Regions from separate parts of the Homo sapiens genome. Here regions 1, 2, 3, 4, 6 and 7 are each linked to region 5. Evidence: promoter capture Hi-C in 16 types of primary human blood cells and fetal thymus (Javierre and others, 2016). All regions are on one chromosome and are shown on one strand. Each heading gives the region's core, a stretch centred on a gene start or on the middle of the fragment in contact. The rest is flanking DNA. Distances are from core to core; before and after follow the strand shown. Region 1 has its middle 20 kb from the start of COA7. Region 2 overlaps TXNDC12 (thioredoxin domain containing 12). Region 3 holds the start of ZFYVE9 (zinc finger FYVE-type containing 9). Region 4 overlaps ZYG11B (zyg-11 family member B, cell cycle regulator). Region 5 holds the start of ORC1 (origin recognition complex subunit 1). Region 6 overlaps TXNDC12 (thioredoxin domain containing 12). Region 7 has its middle 43 kb from the start of BTF3L4.

Region 1 (3,445 bases), core at 274-2,773, 270 kb after region 5:
TGGTCTTGAACTCCTGGGCTCAAGCGATCCTCTTGCCTCAGACTCCCAGCTCCCAAAGTGCTGGGATTGCAGATGTGAGCCACTGCACCCTGCCTTCATTCCTTTAGAAGCTGATGGGATTTGTCTCCTCTGCCCAGGAGTCTTCTGAGGTCTTGAGAGTGCTCTTCTCTCCTCACAGAAGCAGGGTCACTGGCAGAGGGAGCCCAGGCTCCAACCCAGCTCTGCCGCATATTCACTGTGACTTTGGGTAAGTTCTCAGTATCTCTGAGCCCCAATTTCCTCACCTGTAAAATGGGTTCCATACTTAGACCTCCCTTACAGGATGTTCCCCACTTCAGGAGGCGCCCTGCACACAGTGGGCAGTTAATGAATGTTGCTGTTATTACACCACCCCAGGGCAGCTTCAAGGTCAAAGCTTGATGCCACTGATGTCTGGAGTCCACTGGGGCCTCCTGGAACCTGATCGGACACCGTCATCTTGGGGAGAGTAGGGTCAGCTGCTATTCTTGGAGCTGATGGAACCCAGCCGGGTTTCAAGTTCCCTCAGGGAGCCCTGGCCCAGGCAGCTTGGCTGGTCATGTGAGCAGTGAAGTCTGACCTCAGCAAGTTCTCCTGGACTCTCCGCATGGCCCCAGCTGGAGGGAACTTGGGCACAGAGCGTGCTACAGGGAGTCCATGTCCTCCTGCAGCTGACCTTAGCCTTTTAGCTCCTGTTCATCAGCATCTACTTGGTACCCAAAAGGTCCTCGGGTGCTGTTTGAGGGTCTCCCTGAGACTGCAAAGTGTTTCCAACATCAGGATGTGAGGCAGCCTTGAGTCATATGAAGAGGGTTTAGGAGACAAGCAGGACTAAGTTCTAATCCCGGCTGCAATACTCATTGGTCTGTGAGTCTTTCTGTAAGCCACTTTGGCTGAGCCTCAGTTTATTTGAAAAACAGTGAGAATGAAAGTTTCCTGAGATGATTAGAGCATCTGGTACAAAGTAGTTGCTCAATAAATGATCAAAATTTAGACTGTAATTTCCTAAATGATAAAGACTCTGTCAAATCCAGCCCTGCATCCCCAGCGCCCAACCTAGGGCCACCCAGCCTAGAGGAAGCCCTCAGTGTTGACCATATGAATAATGAATTATGGAGGGCACTGAATGGAAATGCCTTATCTGGCTCCCATCTTTCAGGTTTTGCATACTCACTCCACCCAAATCTCATATAGAGTTAGTCCCCTCTGCATCAGCCCTGACAGGCGAGCATCTCCTCTCTTCTTGCATATCCCTGTAATAGGAAGTTCACCTCCTCCCAGAGCTTCTCATTCTGCCAAGTAGAAAATGCTTTCTTCCACTCAGATGTCGATGAACTGAGTTCTGTCTCCTAGCAGCTTCCATCCATTGGGCCTAGTTCTGCTCTCTGGAGCTGTACAGAACAAGCCTAGTTCTGCTTCCGAAAGATAGCCCTCCAGTGAGCTATTACACAATTTAGAATGTGCCAGGCATCGAGCCAGGCACTGCACTTACTTTATCTCATTAAACCCTTTAACCCTTACACTAACCCTGAAAAGTAAACATTATCCTTACTCTAGAGATGAGGAAAATGAGGCTCATAGAGGAAACATAACACATTTGCAGAGAAATTATTTAAATCCAGATTCTTTTCCAAAACGCTACCTTTTCAATGCTCAGTTGATCTACTGGAAGATAGCATTTGTCTCTGAGAGTTTCCCTTCCCTTCCCTTTCCTTCAATAAAGATTTATTATGTATCTCATCTGTACCAGATCCTGAGCTAGGCACAGGGAATAGAAATGAGACATAATCTATTAGGACATAATCTATTGGGACAGGCACTTAACAGCCTGTCCCAAACCATGTGAAAAGGACAGAGACAGGCTGGGCATAGTAGTGCCATCATTTTGGGAGGCTGAGGCAGGTGGATCGCTTGAGTTCAGAAGTTTGAGACCAACCTGGGCAACATAGTGAGAACTTGTCTCTGTTTTTAAAAAATCAAATTAAGCCTGGACGAAGTGGCTCACGCCTGTAATCCCAGCACTTTGGGGGGCCAAGGCAGATGGATCACTTGAGGCCAGGAGTTCGAGACCAGCCTGGCCAACAGGCCAACATGGCAAAAGCCCATCTCTACTAAAAATACAAAAATTAGGCAGGATGCCAGGTGCCTGTAATCCCACCTACTTGGGGGGCTGAGGCAGGAGAATCGCTTGAACTTGAGAGGCAGAGGTTGCAGTGAGCCGAGATCATGCCATTGCACTCTAGCCTGGGCAACAGAGTGAGACTCTGTCTCAAAAAAAAAACAAAAACAAAAAAACCCACTAAATTTTAAAAAAGGAAAGAAAGAACTGAGAGAAGCACAAGGACTATCAGAAGACCACGGAACTTGAGGGTCCAGGATGACTTCCTGGAGGAGGTGACATGTGGGCTAAGTTTTAAAGGACTATTAGGAATTGTAAAGAGCTGAAGGTGTGGAGACCAGACTGCAGAGGGGTTGTAGTGACAAGCTAAGGAGCTGCGGCTTTACACCACTTGAGTGGGCTGCCCATTTTAGTATGAATAAGAATTTCCCGTGGTTTTCTTATTTAAAATCCAGATTTTCATTCCGTAGGTCTTGGTGGACCCAGACATCAGCAAAAGCTTGGCTGTAAGAAACAGCCTGGGTATTTTGTTGTTACTTTTTCTTTTAAAATATTTAATGGATAAACAAAAAGTGTATATATTCAAGGTATACAGTGTGATGATTTGATATACATTGTGTACTGATTACTATAGTCAAATTAATGAACGCATCCATCACCACTTAATTTCTCTCTGTGTGTGTGTGTGTGTGTGTGAGAGAGAGAGAGAGATAGGGATATTTTGGGGGTGGGGCAGGTGGTGCAGAGACCACAAGCAGTTCCCTGATGCAAAGATGCCTGAGTTAGGAATAAGATGGGGCTAAATATGGAGGCAGGGATCATCTCATGGGAGTGGGGAGACACACTGGGCAAAGAATTTTGGCCTTTCCCCTTTAGACAGTGGGGAGGCCTGATTTATAAACTGTAATACAATCACCATTCCTCAAGCCTGGGGAGGGGCACCAGCTGGGAATAGTTTCCACTCTGGGCCCCCAGCAGGTGCAAGTCTTCTCAGTGACTCTGTGCTCAGGCAGTGGAGAAGGGAAAAAGTAGGGGCAGCCCCCTACTTTTCCCCTGCCCCAGGCATGCCCCCTGCAGCTGTTTTGTGCCATCAGTACCCCTGGAGAGCCTCACCGTCAGCTCCCTGGATATTCAAAGAATGGCAGCAAAGGCAGGCTGTTTTAAAAGCTAGACTCCCTCACAAGGTAACAATACCACTCAGAAAAAAGACAATTATCTAATTGTAAGATTTCATTCCACAAAAGTCTTTTTAAATCAGCATTTATCATTCTACGATAAGAGTTACTATTTACTCCTCCTAACAACCCT
Region 2 (3,441 bases), core at 36-2,535, 370 kb before region 5:
TTGATCTGTACCTATTATTTACCCATCTCCCTCCACTGGACTTGGAGATTCCTAAGACAAGGAACTCTTAGCTGTCTCTATATCCTTTACATCTGACACATATATTATTGATAGCAAACACTTATATACCATTTGCCATGTGCCAGGCACTACTGTAAATATACATAAATTAACTCATTTAATAAGTGTCAAATGAATCATTCAGTCACCTCACCTTAGGCCTACCTCACATCTGGATGGACTTCTGCCTGCAATACTTGTAAAAGCTTGTAAACCAAATGAGCAGGGCAAGTTTAGGTGGGTAGTAGGATATAGGTAACCATAATAGCCAAAATGTGCTGAACGTTTATTATATGACATTGTGCTGTATATGCATTATCTCATTTAAATCCTCAAAATAACCCTAGGGTAGATACTATTAATGGTCTCACAATAGAAATGAGAAAATTGAGATGCTCAATAGAGTAAATATTTGGCCCCATAAAATCTAGGTTCTAGGCCGGGCACAGTGGCTCACACCTGTAATCTCAGCACTTTGGGAGGCCGAGGCTGGAGGATCACTTGAGCTCACAAGTCCAAGACCAGCCAGGGCAACATGGTGAAAACCTGTCTCTACAAAAAAATACAAAACTTAGCCGGTCGTGGGGTGCATGCCTGTAGTCCCAGCTACTCACAGCACTTCACTCCAGCCTGGGAGACAGCCAGACCTTGTCTCAAAAATAAATAAATAAAAAAAAATAAAAACCCAAAACAAAAACCTAGGTTCTGCCACTTACTAGCTAACTCAGAAGTCCGACTCCAAAACCAATGTTCTTTCTGACGGTTACAGTCTACTTCAATTTAGAATGGTAATCCAGAATCCATGGTTAGACCCAATTCAATCAATAACCAACTTAATGAAGGTTGGAAAAAGCCTTTTGAGTTTGCCTCATCCAGACTTCCATTTCACACATGAATCCTGTTTATCAGAAACAAAAGGTAGTATAGATTACCTGATGAGCAAGGAATATACCATCAACCAAGGCAGCCCATCTACCCTCTCTTTTAACAGCTCCATAGTTTCAGAGCATGCATGTTTTCGAATGTCTTGCTTTCTCTTTTCTCCCTGGCAAACATCTGTTTATCCTTCTAGAGCAGGGGTTGGCAAACTAGGGTCTGCAGGCCAAATCCAGCCCACCGTCTGCTTCCGTAGGGCCCATGATATGCAAATATTTTGTTGTATATTTTTACATTTTTCAATGTTTGCAAAGCAAATCTAAAGACTCCTTTGTGATATGTTAAAATTAATTGTAATTCACATTTCAGTGTAGTTTTATTAAAATACATTCATGCTTATTTGTTTACTTACCATCTATAAGTAGCAACAGCATTTGATGGTCCACAAAGCCTAAAACATTTACCATTTGGCCCTTTACTGACTTTATTCTACAGTGATGGTTCAAATGTTAACTCCTCTTAAAACCTTTCCAAAACCACCTCCCCCAACAGCTAGTTAGTCCTCTTCACCAGGTTTCCAAAGCATTTTGTCTTTTGTCATCATCCTCTGACCACCAGCCCATTTCATCCTATCTTTTTTTTTTTTTTTTTGAGATGGAGTCTCCTTCTGTCACCTAGGCTGGAGTGCAGTGGCGCGATCTCGGCTCACTGCAACCTCCGCCTCCCGGGTTCAAGCGATTCTCCTGCCTCAGCCTCCTGAGTAGCTGGGATTACAGGCACGTGCCACCACGCCCGGCTAATTTTTGTATTTTTAGTAGAGATGGGGTTTCACCATGTTGGTCAGGCTGGTCTTGAACACCTGACCTTGTGATCCACCCGCCTTGGGCTCCTGAAGTGCTGGGGTTACAGGCATGAGCCACCGCACCCAGCCTAATTCTATCTTTTACTTGTATTTCTCACCACATATCTCTTTTTGTTTGTTTTTCAAGACCCAGTTTCACTGCTGCCCAGGCTGGAGTGCAGTGGTGCGATCTCAGCTCACTGCAACCTCCACCTCCCAGGTTCAAGCGATTCTCGTGCCTCAGCCTCCAGAGTAGCTGGGATTACAGGCACACCATCACGCCCAACTAATTTTTGTACTGTTAATAGAGACGAGGTTTTGCCACGTTGGCCAGGCTGGTCTCGAACTCCTGACCTCGATTTTGGACTCCCAAAGTGCTGGGATTACAAGTATGAGCCACCACACCCGGCTTCTCACCACATATCTCAAGAGCAAAAACACTGTATCTAATTGGTCTTTGAAAATCACAGCCACTGTTAAAGTAGGTACCTACCATTTGTTCAATGAAATCAATGAAGAATGAAAGACAAGCTTACAATGATATTTGCCTTGAAATGCAGAATGAAGCAAAACAGTTACGGAAATTGTCATAATATAATTACTGTAGAGTAGCTCAAAACATCTACTCTCTCAGAACTATCAAAATACTACTTCACTTAAAGGCAGAACAATGACAAGTATACCTAAAATGTTACATGAAGTTACACAGGGAACATTAAGTGAAAGAGATTCCAGTAGACTATTTTAAAAGATTTTATTAGAGGAAATAATCTAGTAGATAACTTTCTTACTTCCACAAAAACAAAGTTTCTCAAGGATACAAACCAATGGATTTATCTGTGAACTCGGTCCCAGAATAGAAACTAGCAAAAAGTCAGTACAGTACTCAAAAAATACTTTTGTGGTATGAAAAAAGGGCAGGTGCAGATGTAGAACTGTACCATCTTCAGTTTCTGTTCACAATTGTTTTAAAACAATTCTCATCTATCCAGTCTGCTCTCCCACGCCTCAGATGAGGGAAGCCAATGGTCAATGCTCTGTGATAGCCCAAGTAGGATCCAATCTAGGTAATCCCTGTCCACCTTAGCTCTGTCCTCTGAGGGATTTGCCAGGTTGCACCACAATAGTTCTCCATTCTCTTTAGTCTGAACTTATGCTGTAAACCCAAGGCCTGGCACAGGGGTATGCAGGAAAGTTTGAGTGAATCAGTCACAACAGCTCTAGTACAGTACTGCATCGATATGCTCTGGAGACCTGCAGCCTATTTTTCCCAGAGAAATAAAGTGGAGTGGAGATCAGAAGCCATGGCTTCCCCCCTACCTCCTCTGGTCAGTGCAGGCTCTGGCTCAAATACTGAAGAAACATGTTGGCCAGTTGCGGCAAGTTCTCATTGTTGGGATGCATTTTAGTGTACGAAATAAACTGGCGACGAAGGCGACTCAGTTCTGCCATGGTCAAGGGCCGGGTAAACCGCAAGTGCTCTGTGGTACCAGGAAGCGTGAGCAAGTCCCCGGGGACAGCGCTCTTCTGCGCTTCCATCAATCCGGCCAGTACTTGACTCGTGACCTGGTCCAACTGGTGCAGAAAGCTGCCGGAGGCGAGGGGCTGGGACTGCGTAGACTGATGGGGTGGTGGGGCCCGGTTCTCAAACAGGGCAGAGCGGA
Region 3 (3,597 bases), core at 931-3,430, 260 kb before region 5:
ATAAAGGCAGCTGCTTTCAGCAACAAGGAGAGAAAGTGTGAAGCAAGAGGAAACTGGTCTTGGGAACAAATGAATCATCTTCTTCATGTAGTAGCTATGCCCTGGGTTGCATGATTATTCATAAACAAATGCAGGTTTCCTGTGGTGGCAGTGATCTAGGCATGAAAAATACAGTGCTAATATTAGGTTACAGCGCTAATGATCTCAATCAGTTGAAGGGCCCTTTTCCCTTGACTAAACATTTTTTAGCAACAAATGACCCTTACAGCATTTTGTTAATATTGTTGAAAGGACTGTTGGGGCATCAGGTTGGGGACTGAAGGGAATCTCAGGGTCTACTTCCAGCTCTTCCTTAGGTTGGATATATTTCACATGTAAAATGGTAGCATAGGACCTAACTCATAGAATCACTGCGAGGATGAATCATGGTTTCCCTTTGAGCCCCAGTTTCTCTTGTTATAGAAAGGGCATAGTGATTTTTTTGTGACTCAGGAGTATGTGGCAAAGGCACACTTAGGATTATGCAGGAACAGCTTTCATTAAGAGAGCTACTAGGTGACATCTTCTCCATGGTGGCTGCTCAATTATTAAATGAATGATTCCTGGAGACCTTTTGTAGTTTCTATTATTTATCATCATTAGGCCATAACCTAAGGTAAGGTGAGATTGCCTTATAACATTTTTTATACATAAAAAATACTGGTTGCATGCTGCTATCTGCTGTGCAACAGAATGTCATAGGATCCAGTGTATGAGGCTCTATTCTTCCATGGAGGGGTGTTACATAAACCCATTAGTGAAATTTAGGGAAATTTCACCCAGACTAGGGAGGATGAAGAATGGAGCATCTATCTTTTGACAGAAATACAGTTACACACACACATACACACACACATACACACACACAGAGAGAGAGAGAGAGAGAGAGAGAATGAGAAACAAAAACAGAGGAGTACAAAATTGAGCCTAAGAAAAAGAACTGGAACCAATAAAAATTGTAACTAACATTTATTAAGTATCTTCTATGGGCCAGTCTCTTTATCTCCAATCTTCAACAACCAGCAAGGCAGGCAGGAGAAAACTGAAGTTCAAAAATGTTACATAACTTCCCCAGGGTCATAAAGCTATATATACATGACAGAACTGGAACTGGTAGTGTTGGTATGTGTCTGACACCAAAATCACTACACATTCTAGTATACCACTCTGTTAAAAAAGTGTATTTGGAAAATTTAGGGATCAGAGGATTTGGAGAATTTTCTTTCCCTACTTCCCCTCTGACAGTCGTGTTTGTTTTTGGTTCTGATGTTTGCACCCTAGAGGCTGACTGGGATCAAATATGGGGCATCTGTAAACAGAATGATTCCATAGCCCCCACTGTGTAATAATTTCCTTCCTTCAGAGCCTTACTAGGATTTGCCTGGGATGAGGGGTGGAAAGGTGGGAGAGAAGAGGTTGGGAGGGAGAGGATGTTAGTAAAAGATGGGTGATTCTTTGCTTACCTTTAAGTTGTTTATGAATTTCAGGACAACCCGTTGGCTATTCTCTTCTCTGGCTTGGCATATATATATATGTATGTATTTTTTTTTCATTTTTGTTTTGTGGGGGTGGTGGTTTAGGTGTTAAGGGTTTGGTTGATATCTGTAGAAAATTTCTTAATGATCTACACAGTAGATAAAAAAACAAGTTAAGGTCAAAGACAATTCCTTCGTCTGTTTTGGGAGACGAGTGTGTATGTTTGAAAAAAAGGTTTGTTCTGGGTCACTCTTCTTTCATCCAGACGCATTAAAGGAATTAGAAGGGGGTCTCCCTGCCACCCCCGAAACCGTGAGAGTCAAACGGAGATTCCCTTATATTCCTGCTCTCAGGTGCGGGTCCGAGTGACAAGAACGTTCACGTATCTTCGGGAGAGAACGAAAAGGTGCTCGGGTCTGGCGGGGGCGGGGAACGCCAGGGGTTGGTGGGAACTGAGGGGCTTCCGGTTCCCGGGAAGCGGAGTCCCGGGCCGGCCGCGGGCCGCGGGCTACGCAGGGAGCACGGGGCCCTCGCCGCCCCCAGGCCGCGCTCCTTAGCGTTCCCTGCGGCTCGTGCCCAGCGCGGCCGCCGCAGTCCCGACGCCGTAGCCGGACGTGGGGTCCAGGGGGCGCTGTGGCCCAGCGGCGCCGGCGGCAGGAGCGGCCACCCGACGCTGGAGGCTTCGCTGAGGATCCCCGCCTGCCGCACCTCGGTCGTCCCGCCGCAGCCTTGCGCCCCCGGCCCGGCTCGGCGGCGCTCCTCCGGGATCCGCGTGGCTGCCGCGGCCCGGGCGCCGATGCGGCTGGGCGGGTGCCGGGCCTTAGCAGCAGTAGCAGCCGCAGCTGCGGCTACCGCAGCTCCTACAGGAGTGGGAGGTTTCGCGGCGGCGCCTGGGGCCGCGCCGGTGCCCTCCGGAGGAGGCTTTCGGCTCAGGGACGACCCCCGTGGCCATGCTGAAGCGGAGGCGGCCGCTGCTCGAGGTGAGTGTGGCGCGGCGTGGTCCGGGGCTCGCCGGCCTCCCGCCGCCTGTGGGGGCCCTGGCGGCAGACCGCGGGCCGGGCGGACGGGGCGTCCTGCCACTGCGGTCGCCTCCCCCACCCTGCGGTCCTGGGGCCTCAGCCCTTTCTCCCCGCGTCCCCCGGGAGGCTGAAGGCCGTGGGGGGCGATTAGGCCCCGCGCCGTTGGGAAGCCCTCGCTCCGGCCTCGGTTCCGGCGCGGCCGGGTGTGTGGAGCTGGGGGCCGGCAGGAGCACGGCCGCCTTTCGGGTTTGCATGGGCCCGGGCCGAGCGCAGCCTCTTAGCCCGGGCCCTGCACGTACATCCCGGAGGGAGGCAGATGACGCCTGTTTGCAAACAAGCTTTGGCTTCCACGCGTCCCATACCGAGTCCCTCAGAATCCCGGTTGTGGCGGGGAAAGGGGGAGGAGAGGAAGGCCAGGGTGAGAATTGGGGGTGCAGAGAGTGCGGGACCAAGAGAGCCCCTGCTACTCCTGGAGTGTCATTCATGGATCTGGCTTGCTCGAGAACAACCTTTTGCGTCTTATTTGAGGTGAAATTTCATCACCTGCCGGTTGCTCATTCCTGCCTCTTTATATTATATCTTGCCTCTAAGCGTGGTCTGCCTTGGAGAAAGCCCCATCGCATCTTTGCGATGCTAAGTTTTGTAGATAAACACTCACAGTTATAAAAACGTCTTTTACAAAGGTCTGCCCCCCACACCCCGCCAGAAGAAATATTTTTATGCTTCAGTGTTCGGTACAAAAATGTTCCACTTAAAGAGATCCAGAGAATAGTTGGCAAAAGGATTTTAAGTCCTCTTTAAGTGCCAGCTACCCTAATAAATACCTGAAGGAAATGGGATACATGCTAAATTTTAGAAATAAAATGATTTGTTCTGATATTAATGTTGAAAATGCTACTGATTACAGTTTGATACCGTAAGTCAGATATTTATGTTTTGTGAGAAATGTGATTACAGGTTATTCTTGTTTTCCTGTTATGTATGTGAAAGTTATAAGACTTATAGGTACTTGCAAAACTTTTATAATCATGAAAAAATATGCTTATTGTAGAAAACTTGGGAA
Region 4 (3,269 bases), core at 254-2,753, 340 kb after region 5:
CTTTTGGGTAGGACATCTTGAGCCTGATTCTTATGAGTTGAGAGACCAGGCATGGTGACTCACGCCTATTACCCCAGCACTTTGGAGGCTGAGGCAGGAGGATCACTTGAGCCCAGGAGTTCAAACCTGAGCAACATAGTAAGACCCCGTCTCTACACAAAAACAAAAAATTAGCCAGACATGATGACACGTGCCTGTAGTCCCAGCTATTCGGATGGCTGAGGTGGGAGGATCTCTTGAGCCTGGGAAGTCGAGGCTGCAGTGAGTTGTGATTATGCTATTGTACTCCAGCCTGGGTGACAGAGCAAGACCCTGTCTCTAAAAAAAATAAAAGATAGAAAAAGAGATGTAAAAGAGAGAATTTTTTTTGTATTTTTTTACAGCTGTACAATGTGTTTATGTTTTGTTACTTCAAGAGTCAAAAAGTAGGCCAGGCGCGGTGGCTCACGCCTGTAATCCCAGCACTTTCGGAGGCGGAGGCGGGCGGATCACGAGGTCAGGAGATCGAGATCGTCCTGGCTAACATGGTGAAGCCTCGTCTCTACTAAAAATACAAAAAATTAGCCGGGCGTGGTTGCAGGCGCCTGTAGTCCCAGCTTCTCGGGAGGCTGAGGCAGGAGAATGGCCTGAAGCCGGGAGGCGGAGCTTGCAGTGAGCCGAGATCGTGCCACTGCACTCCAGCCTGGGCGACAGAGCGAGCCTCCGTCTCAAAAAAAAAAAAAAAGAGTCAAAAAGTTAATAAAAAAGTAAAAGTTCTGGGGGGCAGCCCCCGCCCGGCCAGCCGCCCCGTCCGGGAGGGAGGTGGGGGGCAGCCCCCGCCCGGCCAGCCGCCCCGTCCGGGAGGTGGGGGGCGCCTCTGCCCGGCCGCCCCGTCTGGGAAGTGAGGAGCCCCTCTGCCCGGCCGCCACCCCATCTGGGAGGTATACCCAACAGCTCATTGTGAACGGGCCATGATGACGATGGCGGTTTTGTCGAATAGAAAAGGGGGAAATGTGGGGAAAAGAGAGAGAAATCAGATTGTTGCTGTGTCTGTGTAGAGGGAAGTAGACGTAGGAGACTCCATTTGGTTCTGAGATTAGGGAGTCATCACCACTCCCTAATCTCAAGTACCCAGGGACACAAACACTGCGGAAGGCCGCAGGGTCTTCTGCCTAGGAAAACCAGAGACCCTTGTTCACTTGTTTATCTGCTGACCTTCCCTCCACTATTGTCCTATGACCCTGCCAAATCCCCCTCTCCGAGAAACACCCAAGAATGATCAATAAATACTAAAAAAAAAAAAAAAAAAAAAAGTAAAAGTTCATAAAATCGCTAAGAAAGTTACAGTAAGATAATGTTAATTTATTACTGAAGAAAGACAAATTTGCTCAGGAGTTCGAGACCAGCCTGGGCAACATAGCAAGACCTTGTCTTTACCAAAAATAAAAAAAAATTAGCTGGGTGCTTTGGTGCACACCTGTAGTCCCACGTATTATTCCAAAGGCTAAGGTGAGAGGATCGCTTGATTCCAGGAAATTGAGACTGCAGTGAGCTATGATCACACTACTGTACTCCAGCCTGGGTGATAGATTCTGTCCCCACCCCCCAAAAAGAAAAAACATTTAAATAAATTTAGTGTAGCTTAAGTATTTATAGTCTACAATAGTGTGCAGTAATGTCCTAGGCCTTCACATTCACTATCACTGATTCAACTGATATATTCCAAGTACCTTCCAGTCCTGCAAGCTCCATTTATGTTAAGTCCCCTCTACAGGTGTACCATTTTTTATCTTCTATGCCTATCCCTACTGTACCTTTTCTTTTCTTTCTTTTTTTTTTGAGACAGAGTCTCGCTCTGTCACCCAGACTGGAGTGCAGTGGCACAATTGATCTCAGCTCACTGCAACCTCCGCCTCCTGGGTTCAAGCGATTCTCCTGCCTCAGCCTCCCCAGTAGCTAGGACTACAGGCACAAGCCACCACACCCAGCTAATTTTTTTATTTTTAGTAGAGATGGGGTTTTACCATGTTGCCCAGGCTGGTCTCAAACTCCTAACCTTAAGTGATCTGCCCACCTCAGCCTCTCAAAGTGCTGGGATTACAGGTGTGAGCCACTGCATCCAGCCTTTTTCTATGTTTAGATTTTTCAGATACACAAATACTTAACATTTTGTTACAGTTGCCTACAGTATTCAGTACAGTAACATGCTGTACAGGTTTTTGCATCCTATCTACCACCTCTATGATCACACAATGACAAAATTGCCTAATGACACATTTCTCAGAATATATTCCTGTTGTTAAGCAACACATGACTGTACTAATATTATCCCCACTCTACATAGGATAGAACTGAGTGTCAGAAGAGCTAGGTAATTTGACCATTGTGATAACACTAGAATTCAACTTCAGTTCTACTGTTGTTCTTAACTACGATATTTCTAGAGAAGGGCTGGGTACGCTAGCTCACGCCTGTAATCCCAGCACTTTGGGAGGCCAAGGCGGGCGGATCATGAGGTCAGGAGATCGAGACCATCCTGACTAACATGGTGAAACCCCGTCTCTACTAAAAATACAAAAAGTTAGCCGGGCATGGTGGCACGCGCCTGTAGTCCCAGCTACTCAGGAGGCTGAGGCAGGAGAATCTCTTGAACCCGGGAGGCGGAGGAGGTTGCAGTGAGCTGAGATCGCGTTACTGCACTCCAGCCTGGCAGAGCGAGACTCCATATCAAAAAAAAAATATATTTCTAGAGAAGTCATTTTTGTGCCTCAGCTTTCTTAACTGTAAAATGAAAATTTTAATACTTTTTCTTCTACTTTGTAAGGTTATTGTGAGTATCAAATGAAATCAGGATGTGAATATGCTTTGTTTACTGTAAGGCATTGCTACCAGCATAATTCACAAAGGATATTTTTTCTTATAATTAACCAAAACATAAACCTCATTGCTCAGAGATTCTGAAGTCCACAAGTGCTCAGAAGGTTGAAATGCTTCTTTGCCATGGCTCTGGCAATACAGTAACAGAATGAAGCTTTTAATACACAAAACAAACTAACCAACAAAACAGATAACTGACTGAGTCTTGGGGAAATTACTGAGAATACCTCTAGTTGAGTGTTGTGTAAATGACTAAATACTTCAAGGCAGGAGCATTTAGGAAGACCAATAAAAACCGGAGTGGGGGTTGTGGGAAGGAAGGGTAGAGATTAAAAGAAAGCTATGAGAAGGTTTAGGAAGAGCTAATGGATTGAGATTCCTTTTTTGCCTTGTCTTCATTGCCCCATGCTCTC
Region 5 (3,516 bases), core at 995-3,494:
TGAATAAGTTTTTCTGGTCTTCAGCCTTGTGGGGTAGTGTGCCATGGCTTCTGTGGAAGAGTCCAAACTCTGAGTTACCATGATAAATATTTGGTATTTATCTGATGGATTCTAAGACATAGTCAGTCCCTCCCTTCAAATGAGATCAGACTTATTTTCTGCCCCTGCTACACTCCCATACATTTTAGACTAAGAAAACATTTTATTTGAAGTCATGGTCTACGAAGATTACACACAGGCAATTTAGTATCATCTGTGTCCATCTTGTACTATGCCGTATCTCTTTCCATCCAGGAAAACAGAAAGGTCAATTCCTAAGAAATGAAACTGTAACATTTAGAAATACTAGGAATAAGGCAGAACAATAGGTGTAAAACATCTAACAAAGTGAAATTAAAAGACAGTGATACAGGGGTTGTAAATGTCTTCATGACGCTTATAAAATGCACACAAGGATAAAACAGAAATACAAAGGCTGGGCGCAGTGGCTCACGCCTGTAATCCCAGCATTTTGAGAGGCTGAGGTGGGTGGATCACCTGAGGTCAGGAGTTCGGGACCAGCCTGGCCAACATGGTGAAACCCCGTCTCTACTAAAAATACAAAAATCAGGTGGGCATGGTGGCAGGCAAATCACTTGAACCCGGGAGGTGGAGGCTGCAGTGAGCCGAGATCGCAACACTGCACTCTAGTCTGGGTGACAGAGCAGAACTCTGTCTCAAAATAAAAAAAAGAAAAGTAGATGTTATTATCACTTCAAGGTGATAACTTATCCTATCTTATACAGGATGGCACAGCCTTAACTCAAACCCGGAAAAGCCAGACTGCAATTACTGTGCTCTTAACTACTTCACCTTACAACACACTGTGTGAAACTGGATAATGTTAATATGTAACTGAGAGCTTGCTTTTGGTGTACTTATTACAATAAATCAGGCTTCCCAGCCACTGACTGAACATTGTGGATTGGGCCTCAATTTGCTTACCCACAAAATGGAGAAAATAGAATCTTCCGTTTATTCAACCAATATTTATTAAGTACCCATCGTGTGCCAGGCACTATTTTAGGATAATGGAAGATTAAGTGAAAAAATGCAAAATGGTAAATCCACTTTCCCACTACCTTAATCCCTTGCATTTATTTGTAAGGTACAGTGGTTTTATTTATTAAGTATCATTTGATGAATACTATGGAACTAACATAATTCAAGCAAAATTTTGCATTCAATTTCGGCAGATTCACAAACCTCCTAAAGTCCACATATTGCCCTCCATTAAAGTTAAAAACTGTTGCAAAGGGACTTAAACCATTCTGTCATATTGGAAACTCCTTTGGCATTTCCAGCCCACCTAACACAGCAGAGACGAGGGTACTATTATTCATGTGTTACAGACAACTAGAATCGTATATAATCATTGCAGTTTCACAAATAGATCAGGATAAGAATGCCTTTTCCAACTGTCACAGCAGAAGACTCTTCAATTCCGGGGTTAGAAAAGAGAAGTAGGAAGGGGGCCACCAGACTTCTCTTCTGAAAAGAAGGTGAATGACAGACAGCCCAGCAGTTAGGAGCTCATCTGAAAAAAAGATCTGGGTAGGAGCCCAGACTGCTTAGTCACGAAAAGCGACCTAAGACACGTCCCTCCCTGGGCGCAATTTACGTCCGTAAAATGGGGTAATAACCTCTGCTCCGCCTTCCCTGTAGTGGTTCCTACACTATAGCTCAAAGAACGAAACAAGTAGAGTGCTTTACAAATGCAGATGGAGGGAAAGTCATCACTGAGCATCAGGGTGCGGAGGGCAGGAATGCTCCTGCTTCTAGGCTGTTGGCTTCCGCCTTCCCCCCTGCAAACTCAGTTCCCTGCAGCGCGGGAAGCCTTTTAGGAATCGGAGTGTGGAACAGAGGAACGCTCTTAACAGTTCAGAACAGTGCCTGGCACTGAACAGGCGCTTGGTACATGTCAGCTAAAAGAATCAATGACTGAGTCTACAGAGAACGTCCTCAGTTTCAGAGGTTCCGATGCGCCCTCCCCCGAGTCCCTCGCAGCCCGCTGGACGCCACACTCACCCGGCTCCAAAGCTTCCTCCGGCTAGCCGCAAGCCCTCCGTTTCCTACCGCCTCCACTTCGAGAGCTCCGGGGGATGCGGCACCTCTAACCTGCACCAGCAGGGCTCCTTCTACAACTACGGGCCGAAAGCCAGGACCAAAGCGTGTGTCTCACTAGAAATGAAAAGAAGGTGGAAGGAGAAAAGAAAACTTCGCGCCAATCGGCGTGGCCCCGCCCCCAGACCGTCCCTTCGTTGCGACACCAACTAGCTCGCCCCGCCCACTCCGTACACCTAAGAGGGGCGCATGACGTACATCCGCTAACATGCAGCCGCCATCATTGATTCGATAGGCGACGCGGGGAGCGGAAGCCCTTTACACTACGGTGTTTCCGGCTTCAAGATGGTCGCCTAAGCTGTTTAGTGAAACTTCTTCCACCTTTCTCCATTCCTCTAGGTGCTTTTTCTGAACCTGGATGTGAGGCATTAAAGGATCCGACGGAAATAGAATTGAAGGCATTCTAAAATGGCTAACCGTACAGTGAAGGATGCGCACAGCATCCATGGCACCAACCCTCAATATCTGGTGGAGAAGATCATTCGAACGCGAATCTATGAGTCCAAGTACTGGAAAGAGGAGTGCTTTGGACTTACAGGTAAGTGGAAGCGCGCGGAGCGCCTCTCAGCCCCCTTGTGGCCCATTTCTCCTGACCGAGCGCGGGTAGGACTAGCGACTGGCCTCTGGGGGTGGTACTGGAACGGAGTATGTCGATCATTCAGAAAAATTTTGAGTGCCTGCTAAGTGCCTCGTCTTGTGTTGAGTATTAGAGGCACAGATGAATCTGGTAAGGTCATATTCTGAAGGCTGTCTCAGTTGGGTGTTGTGAGTTATTCCGTATTTAATGATAGCAGGCTGGGTTGCAACAGTGTTAAGCTCAGGGATCCGGATATAACACTTTGACACAATCTGTTGAAGGTCTTTAAGGACCTAACGTTAATATGCCTGAAACCAAATTCATGATCTTACTATTCTTAGATCTGGGCCGGTTCCAGTATTTATAAATATCAGTGCTTCAGAGAAGTCTTCCAGGTAATCTTCCGATTTGAATTGTGGCTTTAAATCCATGTCCTGTGACAATCTGTGGACCTTGAGCAAGTCACTTTACCTTTCTTAGCCCTCATTTTCCTTACCTGGAAATAAGAACATTGCTAGAACTTTCTTCATGACTTGTTAAAAAAGGTTAAGTGAGATAATATGAAAAGCTTAGCAGGGTACCTATTTTATTATCCATTCTCAATGTATATTAGCTGTTGTCGTTACTGTTATTAATACACATTCGTTCTCCTAATATTACACTGTTGATGTATATTTAGGAGAACCAAAGCTTGAACTAACTCCACTCCAACTAGGAAGAGCTTAGCCCTAATATGTTACTGTATTGTTTTTGTTTTTTAGCTGAACTTGTAGTCG
Region 6 (3,394 bases), core at 869-3,368, 350 kb before region 5:
GTACAGTAAATATTGGTCACTACTTCTCCCCATGGGTGATGTACTCCAAATTTTTAGTCCATGGAGAACAATGTAATTATTTTGGAACTCTATAGAACGTTAGAGCTGGAAGAGATCTTAGGAAGTACTTCTAGTACAACTTTCTCATTGATTAATTGGTTGTCACGTAGGACCAGAACTAAATGGCCTGATCAGGATTACAATCCAGGCCTCCTAATTTATTTATTTATTTTTTTTGAGACAGAGTATCACTCTGTTGCCCAGGCTGGAGTGCAGTGGCACTATCTTGGCTCACTGCAACCTCCGCCTCCCAGGTTCAAGCAATTCTCCTGCCTCAGCCTCCCGAGTAGCTAGGATTACAGGCGTGTGCCACCACGCCTGGCTAATTTTTGTATTTTTTTTAGTAGAGATGGGGTTTCGCCATGTTGGCCAGGCTGGTCTTGAACTCCTGACCTCAGGTGATTGACCTGCCTCAGCCTCCCAAAGTGCTGGGATAACAGGCATGAGCCACCGTGCCCAGCCTGGGCCTTCTAATTTCTATTTAGTGCTAAGTCCACATCACTGTGCTGCTTCTTCTTAATGAAAACAGTAGAGATCATTCAGTCTCTCCTCTCTGTAAACCACCAGGCCATCGTCCGGAAACATCTGGGAAGAAATCCATCTCATTAAGACTTTCAGCAACCATTGCCTCAGGTAGCACTTTTTTGGAAGGTAGGGTAAGTGGGGTATAATCTACTTCCCAAGAATCCATACCCAAGAGATACATAAAACAAAAGTTTGAAATAGTATTAATTCCTTTTAGGGATTATTATTATTATTTCCATGGGGGAAATAATACTGGTTAATGTTTATTAAATATTTTCTAAGTGTCCGACACAATATTAAGTGCCTTTTGTTTTTTGATTGAATCCTCCCAACCCAGCCCCACTGCCCTAAGCTGCCCTTCTATGTGCTCCTGCAGCTACCTGGTATTTCTCTGCTTAAAGCACATATCATGCTGCCATGTAACTGTCTGCTTACTTGTCTTGGTATCTTACCAGACTGCAAGCTGAAAAAGGACAGGAATCACAATTATCATGTTTATCATTCATTTCCTCTTTCAACAAATATTCCTGAGCATGAACAAGACAGAAATAGTCCTGGTTCACTGTGGCAGATATGCCCTTCTTACAATGTGACCTCAACATACCTCCCATTGGGGGTGAGGGTGGGGGTCCTAATATTCCATTCCCTTGAATCTGCCCCTACAGGGTACTGTGGAAGTGATGCTATGTGCCTTGTAAGGCTAGGTGACAAAAATGCCATGCATTTCCACCTTGTTCTCTTATGGCACGCACTCTTGGAATCCAGCCTCCCATAAAGCTACTGTGAGGAAACCCATAGGAGCCCATGCGGAAAGATCACATGGAGAGGTAACCAGCTTAGCCAAGGCCCCAGTCATCATAGAACAGGGACAAGCCTTTCCCAGTGTGCCTTGTTTGAATTCCTTACTCACACAATTGTGAGCATAATAAAATGATTTCTTCATGCCCACTAAATTTTGGAGTGATTTATTACACAACAATGGTAACTGGAACAACCACACAAAGCTTAATATCTAACAAGGAATAAAAATACAAAATACCTGATTCCAAGGTATTACCTACACCTAACACAGTAACTTGAACAGAGCAAATTATTTGTTGAGTGTCTGAGGTAGTTATGATGCCCATTTTGCAGATGAGGAACGGAGGCTTTGAGAGTTAAGAAACTTGCCCAAGGCTACTCAGCTAGTGAGTGGCAGAACAAATTAAAACTCAGATCTAGGCCTGGCGCAGTGGCTCCCGCCTATAATCCCAATACTTTGGGAGGCCAAGGAGGGAGGATTACCTGAGGTCAGGAGTTTGAGATCAGCCTGGCCAACATGGTGAAACTCCATCTCTACTAAAAATACAAAAAAATACAAAAAAAAAAAAAATTAGCTGGGCATAGTGGCACATGCCTGTAGTCCCAGCTACTTGGGAGGCTGAGGCAGGAGAATCATTTGAACCCGGGAGGCAGAAGTTGCAGTAAGCCGAGATTGCACCACTCCACTCCAGCCTGGCAGAGTGAGACTCCGTCTCAAAAACAAAAGCAAACAAACAAACAGAAAAAACAGCAAAGAAAAAACTCAGATCTAAACCCACGTACCCAACACTCTACTCTTCTGTTACTCTCAGTACTTACAACTTTAAATATACAGTAGCTGGCTGGGCGCAGTGGCTCATGCCTGTAATCCCAGCACTTTGGGAGGCCGAGGCGGGCAGATCATGAGGTCAGGAGTTTGAGACCAGCCTTGCCAACATAGTGAAACCCCGTCTCTACTAAAAATACAAAAAATTAGCCAGACGTGGTGGCAGGCACCTGTAATCCCAGCTACTCGGGAGGCTAAGGCAGGAGAATCGCTTGAACCCAGGAGGCGGAGGTTGCAGTGAGCCAAGATCATGCCACTGGACTCCAGCCCGAGCAACAGTGTGAGACTCTGTCTAAAAAACAAAACAAAACAACAACAAAAAAAAACGGTAGTCTGTTTTAAAATGGGATTGTCAGTATTTAAAACATTCTGGCCTAACAGGATTTGTCATGCAGTTTCATCACTGAGATGGAAACCCACATATCACCTTCTCCAAAAAGCTTCTCCTGACCTTCATAATTCAAGTGATGCCAGCTCCACCAACCTCCCCAGCCTTTCTACTTCCTATTCCATCACAGTCTTATTGTTTTCCCAGCACTTGTTCCTAGTTGAAACTGTCTTATTAATTTGTTCATGAGTCTACTCTGTCTCTCTGACATGAATATAAGCTCCACCAGAGTAGGAACCTTGTCTGTCCTGTTTACAGCTATATCCCTAGTGCCTAGGACAGTGCCTGAAATATAGGAGGTGATCAAAAATTATTTACGGAATGAAGGAATGATTGCATTCAGGCAAAATGAATGCCCACCCAATCTTATTACTCACCAATAGATGTGAAAATAGAGAGGATAAGAGAAAACAAAAACAGAAGGATTGCAGCAGAATCATTCCATACAGTAAGGTCAGTGAAAAAAAAAAAAGGAAGAGGGGTTGGGATCCATGCTACAATTCATCTACTTAGAAAAGCATAAACTCTGAGTTCACAGACTGTCAGTCCAACTTTCAACTAAGTAAGGGCTGATGAGGAGAGAGGTGTTAAAACTTAGAATGGAGATGTAGGTAATGGATGGAGTAGGGGGCCACACCTCCTAACCTCCATTCATAACCACTGATCGCTCACTTACAAAAAAACTTCGCTGAACCACAGCAAGGACAATTGTTGGGGACCCTTAAACAGCAGACCTTCTACCATTCGCTTGGCTCTTCTTATGCACTAGATACAGCTACCTGGGATGCAGGTGC
Region 7 (3,410 bases), core at 207-2,706, 310 kb before region 5:
TCATTAGGGAAATGCAAATGAAAACCACAATGAGCTAGCACACCTAATAGATGTGAACCTATTAGGGTGGTTATTATAAAAAATAAGTGTCAGGATGTGGAGAAATTGGGATCCTTGTACATTGCTGGTGGGAATGTAAAATGGTACAACCACTGTGGAAGACAATGTGGAGGGTCCTCAAAAAATTAAATGTAGAATTACCATATGATCCAACAATTCTACCTCTAGGTATATATCCAAAGGAATTGAAAGCAGGGACTCAAACATATTTGTACACCAATGTTCATAGCAGCATTATTCACAACAGTAACTCAAGTGCCCATTGATGGATGGATGGATGGATAAACAAAATATGGTATGTACATGCAACAGAATATTTTTCAGCCTTTAAAAGGAAGGAAATTTTGACACATGCTACAACAGGGATGAACCTTTAAAACATTATGCTAAGTGAAATAAGCGAGACATAAAAGAACAAATGTTATATGATTCCACTTATATGAGGTACCTTAGAATAGTGGTCCCCAACGTTTTTGGCACCAGGAACTGGTTTCATGGAAGACAATTTTTTCCACAAACCAGTTGGGGGCATACTGGGGGATGGTTTTGGGAAGGTTCAAGTGCATTACATTTATTGTGTACTTTATTATTATTACATTGTAGTATGTAATGAAATAATTACACAACTCACCATAATGTATAATCAGTGGGAGCCCTGAGCTTGTTTTCCTGCAACTAGACTGCCCCATCTGGGGGTCATATGAGACAGTGACCCATTATCAGGCATTAGATTTGCATAAGGAGCCCACAACCTAGATTCCTCGCATGTGCAGTTCGCAACAGGGTTCACGCTTCTATGAGAATCTAATGCTGCTACTGATCTGACAGGAGGCGGAGCTCAGGCAGTAATGCAAACAATGGGGAGCAGCTGTAAATAAAGACGAAGCTTTGTTCACTCACTCTCTATTCACCTCCTGCTGTGCAGTCTGGTTCCTAACAGGTCACTGATCAATATGGGTCATGGCCTGGGGGTTGGCGACTCCTGCCTTAGCATGATCAAATTCATAGAGACAGAAAGAATTACTATGGGGTAGAAAGGGAGTGCAGAATGGAGAGTTATTGTGTAGTGAGTACAGAGTTTGAGTTTGGAATGGATGAAAAAGTTGTGGAGATGGATAGTCATGATGTTTGCACAACAATATGAATGTATTTAATGCTACTGAATTGTGTACTCAAAATTGGTTAAAATGACAAACTATGTATATCGTGTGTGTGTGTGTATGTGTGTGTGTGTGTGTGTGTGTGTGTGTGTGTGTTTTCTAGACAGGGTCTTGTTCTATCACCCAGGCTGGAGTGCAGTGGTTTGTTCTTGGCTTGCTGCAACCTCCGCTTCCTGAACTCAAGCAATCCTCCTGCTACAGCCTTCCAAGTAGCTAGGACTACAGGTGTGTACCACCATGCCCAGCTAATTTTTGTACTTTTTTTTTGGTAGAGACAGGGTTTCGCCATGTTGCCCAGGTTGGTCTTGAACTCCTGGACTCAAGAAATCTGCCTGCCTTGGCCACCCAAAGTGTTGGCATTACAGGCATGAGCCACTATACTGGGTCAACTTTATGAATATTTTACTATAACAACAAAAAAAAACCTGTGAAATGCCTCTAGGAACCCCATGTGGAAGAGATCAGCCAACTGTAGGTAAGTCTAACCGATCAAAAACATTATGGATACAGTTTACCTCAGCAATAAGTCATTCCCAAGACCACAGTGCTGAGAAACTTTGAGTTGGTACTCTGAGGAGTCAGAGATGAGTTGGCACTAATCCCTACCTCCACAGTATTACAGTTGTTAGAAAATAGCATACACTCAAAAAATAAAAGGTCATACCAAGGACCAGGTCAGTGCTACAGACTCTTTTTAAGTGTCACAGAAGAAAAGGATCTTCATCCCATCTTTATGTTTGCTAGAGCAAGCTTGTTATCACAGTGTATTTAGCCCAACTCACACCCATTCTAATATTGTTTTACATCCACATATCCTTCTTAAGAAGCCTAGACAGCCATGTTTACAGAGCGTGACTCCACACCAGTAATAGATGCTCAGACCGAGGGCAAAACAGTGACCCAAGAACCAATCCATAGACTAACAGCTGAGCCAATCCATTTATTTCTAAGGATTCTGTACTAAGACTGAATCAGATGCTAATGGACCCTTGGACTGAACGATCCTGTAGGATGGAGCTAGAACACTCACACTGGGCCAGGTACAAGCAGTGGAAGCTATAAGAATGAAGCCGAAATAATAGACAACCCTAAAAAGAGAACAGTCTCAGAAAATGATTTCACAATTTCTGTCCTATGATGCCTGGCTGTCCTTTTTCTGTCCCTGGGTTGCTAACTTGTCAGTGAGATTTTTGTGTTCTTAAAAACACCTCCCTCTGCCACCATCATTCCGTTTAAGCCAGCTTGAGAGACTGTTCCTTGCCACCAAATGATCTTAGAGCAAGGGCATTTGAAGCCGGGCATGATGGCTCACACCTGTAATCCCAGCACTTTGGGAGGCCGAGGTGGGCAGATCACTTGATGGCAGGAGTTCGAGACCAGCCTGGCCAACATGGTGAAACCCCGTCTCTACTAAAAATACAAAAATTAGCCAGGCGTGGTGGCATGCGCCTGTAATTCCAGCTACTCTGGAGGCTGAGGCATGAGAATCACTTAAACTCAGGAGGCAGAGGTTAAGAAAAATTAAGAAAAAAAAATTAAAACTGTTAAATGGAAATGTCACAGGGACCATCCTTCTGGCATTCTTTTTTTTTTTTTTTTTTTGGAGACAGAGTCTCTCTCTGTTACCCAGGCTAGAGTGTAATGGTGTGACCGCGGTTCACTGCAGCTTCCGCCTCCCGGGTTCAAGCCATTCTCCTGCCTCAGCCTCCCTAATAGCTGGGACTCAGGCACACGCTGCCACACCTGGCTAATTTTTTGTATTTTTTAGTGGAGACGGGGTTTTATCATGTTGCCCAGGCTGGTCTCAAACTTCCTGAGCTCAGGCAATCCGCCTGCCTCGGCCTCCCAAAGTGCTAGGATTACAGGCGTGAGCCACCGCGCCTGGCCCATTCTTGCATTCTTTAAAGTTTTGAGGGAGGCACTAAACTCTGTCATTTCACTAGAATGTCATAGGTTTTTGATTTATTATATTGGCCATTATAAGGGAGCAGTTTCAGGAGCTTCCACTTGGCCTTTCTTACTACTACAGTAGTTCTTCATCTACAGTGAGGGTTCTGCAATTTCTAGGTACGCCTATTTCAAGTATACACTCATGAACAGGAGAGACAACTGGGTAGGTCCATGTACCTAGTGGAACCATTGTACAACAGACCTGGGTCAGGACTCTATTTATTTCCTCACCCACATGTA

What was found. Contacts are between HindIII fragments. The CHiCAGO score rates a contact against its expected background, and 5 or more counts as called.
Region 1: a contact is called between a fragment that was not itself captured here and the fragment with the promoter of ORC1 in region 5, in 9 of 17 cell types (M0 macrophages, megakaryocytes, erythroblasts and 6 more). The highest score is 11.5, in M0 macrophages.
Region 2: a contact is called between a fragment that was not itself captured here and the fragment with the promoter of ORC1 in region 5, in 1 of 17 cell types (fetal thymus). The highest score is 5.9, in fetal thymus.
Region 3: the fragment with the promoter of ZFYVE9 here is called in contact with the fragment with the promoter of ORC1 in region 5 in 2 of 17 cell types (endothelial precursors and M1 macrophages); the score reaches 7.8 in endothelial precursors.
Region 4: a contact is called between a fragment that was not itself captured here and the fragment with the promoter of ORC1 in region 5, in 2 of 17 cell types (M1 macrophages and naive CD4 T cells). The highest score is 5.2, in M1 macrophages.
Region 6: a contact is called between a fragment that was not itself captured here and the fragment with the promoter of ORC1 in region 5, in 1 of 17 cell types (fetal thymus). The highest score is 7.8, in fetal thymus.
Region 7: a fragment that was not itself captured here is called in contact with the fragment with the promoter of ORC1 in region 5 in 1 of 17 cell types (endothelial precursors); the score reaches 5.1 in endothelial precursors.

What each region holds. Positions count from the first base shown.
Region 1 is chr1:52,676,140-52,679,584 of GRCh38, forward strand. No RefSeq gene overlaps it. Among named protein-coding and RNA genes, the nearest start is that of COA7, 20 kb to the right of the region's middle. The HindIII fragment of the contact is 2,221 bases long and covers 414-2,634 here.
Region 2 is chr1:52,029,591-52,033,031 of GRCh38, forward strand. The region is part of intron 2 of TXNDC12 (thioredoxin domain containing 12); the gene reads right to left. KTI12 (KTI12 chromatin associated homolog) reads right to left here. Exons shown (of 1, transcript NM_138417.3): 1 at 2,513-3,441. The coding sequence ends at 3,107. Among named protein-coding and RNA genes, the nearest start is that of KTI12, 2.5 kb to the right of the region's middle. The HindIII fragment of the contact is 2,042 bases long and covers 265-2,306 here.
Region 3 is chr1:52,139,909-52,143,505 of GRCh38, forward strand. It overlaps ZFYVE9 (zinc finger FYVE-type containing 9), which reads left to right and starts at 2,181. Exons shown (of 19, transcript NM_004799.4): 1 at 2,181-2,495. It overlaps LOC107984956 (collagen alpha-2(I) chain-like), which reads left to right. Exons shown (of 5, transcript XM_047439476.1): 2 at 1,285-1,381; 3 at 1,527-1,573; 4 at 1,869-2,495. RefSeq lists a silencer at 1,981-2,840. The HindIII fragment of the contact is 13,456 bases long and covers 1-2,870 here.
Region 4 is chr1:52,742,133-52,745,401 of GRCh38, forward strand. All of the region lies in intron 1 of ZYG11B (zyg-11 family member B, cell cycle regulator), which reads left to right. Among named protein-coding and RNA genes, the nearest start is that of ZYG11B, 17 kb to the left of the region's middle. The HindIII fragment of the contact is 3,010 bases long and covers 1-3,008 here.
Region 5 is chr1:52,402,179-52,405,694 of GRCh38, forward strand. It overlaps ORC1 (origin recognition complex subunit 1), which reads right to left and starts at 2,245. Exons shown (of 17, transcript NM_004153.4): 1 at 2,068-2,245; 2 at 1-50. The coding sequence starts at 45. It overlaps PRPF38A (pre-mRNA processing factor 38A), which reads left to right and starts at 2,424. Exons shown (of 10, transcript NM_032864.4): 1 at 2,424-2,701; 2 at 3,502-3,516. The coding sequence starts at 2,572. RefSeq lists an enhancer at 1,744-2,943. The HindIII fragment of the contact is 1,229 bases long and covers 2,078-3,306 here.
Region 6 is chr1:52,051,157-52,054,550 of GRCh38, forward strand. The region is part of intron 1 of TXNDC12 (thioredoxin domain containing 12); the gene reads right to left. It overlaps TXNDC12-AS1 (TXNDC12 antisense RNA 1), which reads left to right. Exons shown (of 3, transcript NR_126385.1): 2 at 628-693; 3 at 1,251-1,527. Among named protein-coding and RNA genes, the nearest start is that of TXNDC12-AS1, 1.9 kb to the left of the region's middle. The HindIII fragment of the contact is 1,063 bases long and covers 1,588-2,650 here.
Region 7 is chr1:52,097,403-52,100,812 of GRCh38, forward strand. No RefSeq gene overlaps it. Among named protein-coding and RNA genes, the nearest start is that of BTF3L4, 43 kb to the left of the region's middle. The HindIII fragment of the contact is 1,024 bases long and covers 945-1,968 here.